Regions from separate parts of the Homo sapiens genome. Here regions 1 and 3 are each linked to region 2. The links are contacts of gene promoters, found by promoter capture Hi-C in blood cells and fetal thymus (Javierre and others, 2016). All regions are on one chromosome and are shown on one strand. The core of a region is centred on a gene start or on the middle of the fragment in contact, and the rest is flanking DNA. Distances in the headings are between cores, read along the strand shown.

Region 1 (3,004 bases), core at 133-2,632, 190 kb after region 2:
CCTCTTTATTCAGTTATAAAAAGAGATAATACCTACTCTGCAGAGTTATTTTGAGGATGGGGAGGGACACACAATTCAGTCTATAACAACCATCGGATCCTGATATCCCATTCAAGTTTTGCCAAATGTTTTCATGATTTCCATTATAGCAAAATGATCTAGTTCAGGATTCCACTTTATACCTAGTTTCTTGCCTCTTTAGTCCTTCAGTCTGGAACAGTTCCTTGGTGTTTCTCTGACTTTCATGACCTTGACACTTTTGAAGAATGTAGGCAGTTATTTCATAGAAGGTCCCCACTCTGGGTTTTGCTGATGTTTCCCCATGATTAGATTTAGGTTATACAACTTTAAGAGCAATATCACAAAAGTGAGCCTATATACTGAATTGCATCCTACCAGGTGGAATTCTTTTTGAACTTGTTCCATTATTAATGATTATTCACTTCAATCATTGATGGAGAGCGTGTTTCTCTGCTTTAAAGTTTCTTGTTTTTATCTTTATAATTCATTTTATTTTGTGTGAAAGCAATATGAAATCTTCCACATCCCTATGTCAATGTCCCATTCCTCCTTAATCTTTCAATGCATTCATTTATTAACTTATATCCCTATAGATTCATGATTTTTTTATTTTATTAAATTATTTACAATACATTATAAAAACATTTGTTGTGACGGTGAAATTGTCCCAGATTTGCCAGTGCAAGTCTATTCATGCTGGTTCCTATGTCTTTCTGAGATGTGCTCATCTTATCCTTTTCCTGTTCTAGCTGTTTTCTCAATTCCTAATTTCTTTGTTTTTGTTTTGTTTGTTTGTTTGTTTGTTGTTTGTTTGTTTTTGAGACAAAATTTTGCTCTTGTTGCCCAGGCTGGAATGCAATGGTGCAATCTCGGCTCACTGCAACCTCTACCTCCCGGGTTCAAGCGATTCTCCTGTCTCAGCCTGCCGAGTACTTGCGATTACAGGCACCCGCCACCAAGCCTGGCTAATTTTTTGTATTTAGTAGAGACAGGATTTCACCATGTTAGTCAGGCTGGTCTCGAACTCCTGACCTCAGATGATCCACCTGCCTCAGCCTCCCAAAGTGCTGGGATTACAGCCATGAGCCACCGCACCTGGCCTCTGATTTCTTTTAGTTGTATTTATAGTCTGAGATCTGCAAGCTATGTGTGCTCATTGCTATTGGGATGCTGCCTTTCTCCAGCCCTCTCAGTTGGAGAGATAGGGAATATAAATGTCTCTGAAGGCATATATGTGCATCTACAATTATTTCTATATCTATCTATATATTTTAATATTCAATGAGTTCTGCTATAATGCTTGTTTGGAAAATGTGAATCTGTTTCAGTACAATTGACATATTAAGGAACAAATTAAGCATAGCATATATTTTGTGTTTGCTTATGCATTATTTTGTTTACAAGAAACACAAGATGAAAACAGAAAACTGCATCCAGCTGAACCAAGCCTGGACACAAAATATGCACATACACACATGCACAAATCTCTACATTACCTCAGTTCATCTCATGTGCTATGAGCTATACCCATCTCATCTAATGTCACAGCTTTCTGTCTGATTTAAAGTAAACCTCTTCCACCATTGCATAAGTTGCAATTCTTCTGTTCCCCACTTCCACAATCAAACTTCAGGTCCTTTTCAAGGTAAAATGACATATTTAGTATAATATTTATGTACTTCTTACCCACTTCACATGTGTAAACTGTACTATCATTTTTAAGTTTCAATCTTTTGTGTGTGTGTCAATAATGAAGTATTTGAGTTTTGTGCTCCAATATTATTTTATCATAAGCCCTGTGGGTTTTATTGTATAATTCTGCATGGCACAACAATTTTAAGTAATCAGCATGTCATGTTATAAAAGAACTGATTCTATCCAAAATCATAGGTTTGTTGCCCTGTATGGTGGCTCACACCTGTAATCCTAATACTTTGGGAGGCCAAGACAGGAGGATTGCTTGAGCTCAGCCTGGGCAACATGACAAGACCCCATCTCTACAAAAATAAATGAATTAGCCAAGCATGGTGGGGTGTGCCTGTGGTCCCAGCTGCTCAGGAGGCTGAAGTGGGAGGATCTCTGGATTCTGAGAGTTTGAGGTTGCAGTGAGCCATGTTCATGCCACTGTACAACTGGCCAGATGACAGAGCAAGACTTTGTCTCAAAAAAAAAAAAAAAAAAACCAAAAAACAAAACCTATAATTTTGCACAAGATGTCTAATTCTAACCCAACACTCAAAGATTCATTCTGGTTTTCTCATTTTCTGTATTTGGAGCTCCTTTCTCCAACAGCAACAAATCAGATTCCTATCATCCTTACTATAATTACTTAATTGATCAAGCTCCTGTATGTAGCCAATCTCTTATCGCTACTGTTGCCCCATTCTCCATGCAGATGGCTTCCACACCACCCACAATCAGGCTCCATAACCAGGGTTTCCCCTGTGTGTATGCCACTTCACCCTGCACAAGGCTATGACAATGCACACCAGACCACTCTTCCCTGTGGTCACCCTTCTCACGCCTCTTGGCTCTTATTCTCCCCAGGGAGCAGCCCTTTTACATGCACACACTCCTCACACTGCTCAGGCTCCAACATGTCGTGATCTCAAACATCACATCCCCTCATCACCAGGTGTGGACACCTACCTAGTTCTACCCAACTCAATGGCTATGTAACCGAATTGTTCATTAAAAGAAAAAATGAGAGAGGAAGAGCAAGAAAGAGAGTTGCCATTTGGGGCAGAGGAATAAAGAGTAGTGAACTATCACTCTGGGAGAATTCTATTTCCTGGACTTGCATTATGGAATTAGCTCTATTTTACTTTGGAAGAGTCTTTTACTCTTCTTGAAGGAGTGAGCTGGGGACAAATTCCTAGCCATCTTTCTTCCAAAATTCCAGTGGAATATACACAAAATGGGGCATAAAATGACTAAAAAGTATTGCTCCATAAACTGGTGGTTTAATAATTGTGGATGTTTA
Region 2 (3,132 bases), core at 71-2,570:
GTAAGTCTATGCATATTTCTAAGAAATTGCCAAGCTGTTTCCCAAAATGTCTGTAGCATATTTCATTCCTGGGAGCAACAAATGAGAGTTTCTGTTACTATATATTTTAACACCATTTAAGTTTGCTTTTAAATGCTGTTGACTCGATGTTCAACATTGAGGAACCGATAAACTGTTTTTTAAAGTGGCTGCACCATTAGACATTCCTATCAGCAATAAATGAGGATTCCAATTTGTCCACTTCTTTCTCAACACTTGTTTTTATTTTTTATTTTAGCCATCTTAATAGGAGATGCCTCAAATATATTTCTGTCAAAGCCTTCATTTTACATATTTAGTTCACTCAACTTATGGAGTAGAATGAAAAAAACTGTAAAGCCAATTTTCATTACTAAACCAACTAGCCACATACATTTGCTTTCTCCAAAAATAGAATATCTTACTCACTTTCAATTCTAATATATGTTTTCATCTTCATGAAAACCATGCATTTATTTTTCAGCTCAATTTCTAAGTTGTACAGGTAGGAAAGCAAACAGAGAGGAGACAAAAAATAAGGAGCCTCATCATAACATTGTAGTCTGAAAGAAATGTCACCATTACTTTCAGCACTTGTTACTGATACTCTCTTTGCTATGATCTTATGGGATTCTCCTGCAGAAGTGACCAAACATTCTTTCATGGTAGTCTGAAAATGGAAGAAGCAAAGTAATGAAAATATGACAGCATTCCCACCACGTCCCAGAATAGATCTAAAGATGAAGACTAACAACAAGCCACATCCTCAAAGAAATATTTATCAAGACAAGGAAAAAACAGAACTATACTATCCTGACTTGAATAAGCAAGGTTTCATATGAAAATCATTATTTCAAATATTCCTTTTATTTGGCACTGCAGAGGTTTTTACATATCAAAATGGTTAAGATTTGACATGAATGAGGTGTATGTAGGTTTGCGGGGGTGGGGGTGGAGTTCTTTTTGTTTTGTTTTTAATAATAAAAGCAACTGTTAACCGAGCTGTGGGGTGGGGGCAAAAAGAGCCAGAAGGCGGCGCACACCTCAGGACTATTCTTGTTTTTTTAGAACCATTCTTATTCTGGGGTTTCTTCACCTACCCAAGTCTCGCCTGAAGCCAGGTACAGCTCTATTCCACTACATGACCCTCTGCCCAGGAAGTTGGAATCTTCACCTAGCAACACAGTTCAGATCGAGATTGACAGGACCATGAGCCAATCACAAAGCTAGATTTGCTTTCCAGTCTAACAGTGGCCGTTGTGCTGGAGACAGTGAGGAGAAGAAAGGGGCGGGACAAGGGCAAAGGCGTTAGAAGTCACCACCGACCCAGCCCCTCAACAGCAAGTTGGTTCTTCAGCATTAAGATCCAGGTGTCAGCCTATGTCTTTATATTGTCAAGATGTCTCTTTCTAAGAAGTTGACTTTAGACAAACTGGATGTTAGAGGGAAGCGAGTCATCATGAGAGTAGACTTCAATGTTCCCATGAAGAAGAACCAGATTACAAACAACCAGAGGATCAAGGCTTCCATCCCAAGCATCAAGTACTGCCTGGACAATGGAGCCAAGGCAGTAGTTCTTATGAGTCATCTAGGTCGGCCTGATGGTGTTCCCATGCCTGACAAATATTCCTTAGCACCTGTTGCTGTTGAGCTCAAATCCTTGCTGGGCAAGGATGTTCTGTTCCTGAAGGACTGTGTAGGCGCAGAAGTGGAGAAAGCCTGTGCCAACCCAGCTCCTGGTTCAGTCATCCTGCTGGAGAACCTGCGCTTTCATGTGGAGGAAGAAGGGAAGGGCCAAGATCCCTCTGGAAAGAAGATTAAAGCTGAGCCAGATAAAATAGAAGCCTTCCGAGCATCACTTTCCAAGCTAGGGGACGTCTATGTCAATGATGCTTTTGGCACTGCACACCGCGCTCATAGTTCCATGGTGGGAGTGAATCTGCCCCATAAAGCATCCGGATTCTTGATGAAGAAGGAACTAGATTACTTTGCTAAAGCCTTGGAAAACCCAGTGAGACCCTTTCTGGCTATACTTGGTGGAGCCAAAGTGGCAGACAAGATCCAACTTATCAAAAATATGCTGGACAAAGTCAATGAGATGATTATTGGTGGTGGAATGGCTTATACCTTCCTTAAGGTACTCAACAACATGGAGATTGGTGCTTCCCTGTTTGATGAAGAGGGAGCCAAGATCGTTAAAGATATCATGGCCAAAGCACAAAAGAATGGTGTAAGGATTACTTTTCCTGTTGATTTTGTTACTGGGGACAAGTTTGACGAGAACGCTCAGGTTGGAAAAGCCACTGTAGCATCTGGCATATCTCCTGGCTGGATGGGTTTGGACTGTGGTCCTGAGAGCAACAAGAATCATGCTCAAGTTGTGGCTCAAGCAAGGCTAATTGTTTGGAATGGGCCGTTAGGAGTATTTGAATGGGATGCCTTTGCTAAGGGAACCAAAGCCCTCATGGATGAAATTGTGAAAGCCACTTCCAAGGGCTGCATCACTGTTATAGGGGGTGGAGACACTGCTACTTGCTGTGCCAAATGGAACACTGAAGATAAAGTCAGCCATGTCAGCACTGGAGGCGGTGCCAGTCTAGAGCTTCTGGAAGGTAAAATCCTTCCTGGAGTAGAGGCCCTCAGCAACATGTAGTTAATATAGTGTTACTTCCTTCTGTTTTCTGTCCATGGCCCTTAAGTCAGCTTAATGCTTTTACATCTCGATGTGACTTTTGTTAAAATCTACTCCTAGATCAAGACCTATGTAATGGACAAGCAGCAGGCCATCAGGAACTCTTAATATCAGCACAGCAATTCATTTTAGTTTGGTCACGCATTTGCCTGTTCAAGTTCTCATTTGAACTTCACCATTGTGCTATCTAGGGAGGACATATTCTTAAGTTGCCTATTAAAGAAAGTGAGCTGAAGAAACTGAATCTTTTTATTTTAGTCCAACTTTGCTATTGTTTCATAATTTGAAACCCAAAAGATAAAACTTAATTTGTTGGGAAAGGGTGGAATGAAAGTTGACAAACAAACAATAAATATGCCCAAATAAACTGAGAAAAATAATTACATATAAAGAACTCATGGGTACCATTAAAGTTCTGCTAA
Region 3 (3,292 bases), core at 1-2,500, 230 kb after region 2:
ACTTTGGGAGGCCAAGGCAAGTGGATCATTGAGGCCAGAAGTTTGAGACCAGCCTGGCCAACATGCCCAAAACCCGTCTCTACTAAAAAAAAAAAAAAAAAAAAAAAACATATTTGAGTGTAACGGCATGCACTTGTAGTCTCAGCTACTCAGGAGGCTCAGGCAGGAAAATCACTTGAACCCGGGAGGCGGAGGTTGCAGTAAGTCAAGATTGCGCCTCTGCCCTCCAGCCTGGACAACACAGTGAGACTGTCTCAAAAAACAAACAAACAAAAAACAAAAACTATTGCATTAGGGGAGAGAGATTGAACTTAATTCCTTTGAAACAAAAGGTGGGAATATTTTAAGCATTAAGGCGAGCTAGAGAAAAACTACGAGACAATGTTAAAAGGGACATTGGTCAATGTGATTATGCCATCTATGTTTGCTGATTGGCACTTTGAGAAGCTGGGCTTCCACCCTCCCACAGAGACTGATAGTTAGAGACCTCTGAGTTTTGTTTGTTTGTTTGTTTGTTTTCAGTGATTACACTTCACAGTAATGGCTCCTAGGTCCTCAAGAAAGACATACCTGGATCTTTCTTAGATTTACATTTCAAAGGGGCAGAGAAATAATTTACCATTCAAAGTCTTCTAAAGTAAATGCTCTAAGAAAAGGAAAGTCAGGGACCTAAGTCAAGAAGCTTATCTGAAATTTAGTCAAGCTGAGGAATGGGTAAGATCATCTTGGCCACTACAAAGCTTTCCTATTGCCCTACCTGCCTTCGCTTTCCTGCCAAGCACAAATGATGTTGGCTGACTCTCTTATTATAGCAAGCTCTGCAAACACAGCCTCTGTTTGTTCTATTTTGGGGAGGGCTGCAGTCTCCTCAAAATACTCTTGTTCTGTTTATTTATTAATTATTATTATTATTTTGAGATGGAGTTTTGCTCTTGTTGCCCAGGCTGGAGTGCAATGGCGCGATCTCAGCTCACTGCAACCTCCTCCTCCTGGGTTCAAGTGATTCTCCTGCCTCAGCCTCCTGAGTAGCTGGGATTATGGGCATGCACCATCACCTCGGCTAATTCTGTATTTTTAATAGAGATGGGGTTTCTCCATGTTGGTCAGGCTAGTCTTGAACTCCTGACCTCAGGTGATCCACCTGCTTTGGCCTCCCAAAGTGCTGGGATTACAGGCGTGAGCCACCGTGCTTGGCCTCTTGTTCTGTTTTAAGGTTAGAAATGTAAGTTTGAATTTGGTTAGTTCCTTGCTTTGAAGATAACCAAGTCTTAATGTTTTGTTTGTGACTATTGGCTGCATAATGCCTGAAAACCAATCATAACTCCTTACTCTCTCCAAAGTAATCTGGACTTTATCTTCATCTAGAGAAGTAAATTCACAGATTTGCCCTCCCTAATTACAGAGCAAAGTACTGACTGCAGTTATAGAGATGTCATGGTGTTCAAGAGTCACAGCCCTTTGTTTACTTATCTGAATCAGTTGATTCAAATTCTGGCTCCACCTTTTCCCCACCCCTCTCAATTCATCACAAGTGGCTGACAAGTTCTGACTCAGCCTGCAGAGTTGCAATTGTGCAATGTGTTAATGACTTCCTGCTTTTTCACCTTTACAGGAGTTTTTTATAATGTATTATTTCATATTCCTAGACAACAAAATAGCCATATTTCTGAAATAGTTTGAAATTCAATGATGAGTCAATGGTTCATTAGGACAAACTTTCAAATAATAAGGCTCTTTAAAAAAGACACTATAAAGCTTCATAGAGATCTCTTCGCCAATTTACCCATTCATATCCTCTATCTTTCACCTTCCTGTAATCTTTAACTGTGTTCAAAACTCTATGAATTATTATCTTCATGGCATTGTTAACAATTAATTGGGAATACAGAATAAAAAAACTTTTCAGTTTTGGTAAGTGACAAAATAGGATACAGAACTAAATATATGAGAATATGTCAGTGTTTCTCAAACTTTAATGTGAATCATCCAATGATCTTGACAAAATGCGAATTCTGATTCAACAGATCTGGAATGGGGCCTGAGATTCTACTTTTCTAAAAACCTTCTTGGAGATGCCCACGCTGCCGTTTCACAGAACGCCCATCTTGAGTAGCATCAGTATATGTTTGTTTATATACAGATCATATTCAGAAAATATACAGAGGTTACATTAATACTACTTTATATAGTTTATGCTTAGAAAGATGTATGTATATATGTAGGTATATTCACATGAAAATACAATAAAATAAAACCACACTTGGCCAGGCATGGTGGCTGATGCCTATAAGCCCAGCATGTTGGGAGGCCAAGGCAGGAGGATTGCTTGAGTCCAGGATTTTAATACTAGCCTGGGCACGCCAGGTGCGCGGTGGCTCACGCCTGTAATCACAGCACTTTGGGAGGCTGAGGTGGACAGATCACGAGATCAGGAGATCGAGACCATCCTGGCTAACATGGTGAAACCCCATTTCTCCTAAAAATACAAAAAATTAGCCGGGCGTGATGGCGAGCGCCTGTAGTCCCGGCTGCTCGGGAGGCTGAGGCAGGAGAATGGCATGAACCCGGGAGGCAGAGCTTGCAGTGAGCGAAGATTGCGCCACTGCACTCCAGCCTGGGCAACAGAGCGAGGCTCCGTCTCAAAAAAAAAAAAAGACTAGCCTGGGCAACATAGCAAGGTGCTGTCTCTATAAAACAAAAACAAAACAAAACAAAAAATTCATGCTTGAAACTTGCCAAATATTAAAAGAGATTTGGGGTCATCTGTAAATTTTTGTTTCCTTTATTATATCTTCTTTTTCTTCATAATATTTTCCCAATTTTTATGCAGTGTATACAACTGTTTCTTTTAATAAAAAGTTTTTTTCTTTTTCAAAGCAAAGAGCCACATCAAGTTTTATCACCAAGCACTGGTAACATCCAACAAAAATAAGCAGTAAGTCAAATGTAATGATTCCCAAAAGGAGATCATGGTTGTAAACAAAGAGTTTTAAGAGAGGATAACACTTGCCTGATCCTGGGGGTTATGCGATTCTGACATTTATCTTATGGTCACTGGAGTGGCTTCTGGAAGTCTTTGATGCGGTTCATCCACCTAACACAATTTTAGATAATCATGTTTTTCAGAGGAGTAGAGGTAAGATCAAAGAGCCAAGATCCAGTCATTCTCAGAGATTTCTTAGTATTGAGGATGCCCAAGTTTCACTTTGGATGCACTCCCAGGACATTTGTAAACGGGATAAGATTTCTCAGGCTCTTCAAATAACAGGGTTCTGCTTGGATCAGGAACACC

The links. The method cuts DNA at HindIII sites, captures the fragments that hold promoters and counts their contacts. A CHiCAGO score of 5 or more calls a contact.
Region 1: a contact is called between a fragment that was not itself captured here and the fragment with the promoter of PGK2 in region 2, in 1 of 17 cell types (erythroblasts). The highest score is 5.6, in erythroblasts.
Region 3: a contact is called between a fragment that was not itself captured here and the fragment with the promoter of PGK2 in region 2, in 1 of 17 cell types (megakaryocytes). The highest score is 5.5, in megakaryocytes.

Annotation. Positions count from the first base shown.
Region 1 is chr6:49,591,778-49,594,781 of GRCh38, reverse strand. No RefSeq gene overlaps it. Among named protein-coding and RNA genes, the nearest start is that of C6orf141, 43 kb to the right of the region's middle. The HindIII fragment of the contact is 6,483 bases long and covers 1-3,004 here.
Region 2 is chr6:49,785,473-49,788,604 of GRCh38, reverse strand. It overlaps PGK2 (phosphoglycerate kinase 2), which reads left to right and starts at 1,320. Exons shown (of 1, transcript NM_138733.5): 1 at 1,320-2,945. The coding sequence starts at 1,418. The coding sequence ends at 2,671. The HindIII fragment of the contact is 4,736 bases long and covers 1-3,132 here.
Region 3 is chr6:49,554,876-49,558,167 of GRCh38, reverse strand. It overlaps a transcript of C6orf141 not described here. Among named protein-coding and RNA genes, the nearest start is that of C6orf141, 5.9 kb to the right of the region's middle. The HindIII fragment of the contact is 1,015 bases long and covers 743-1,757 here.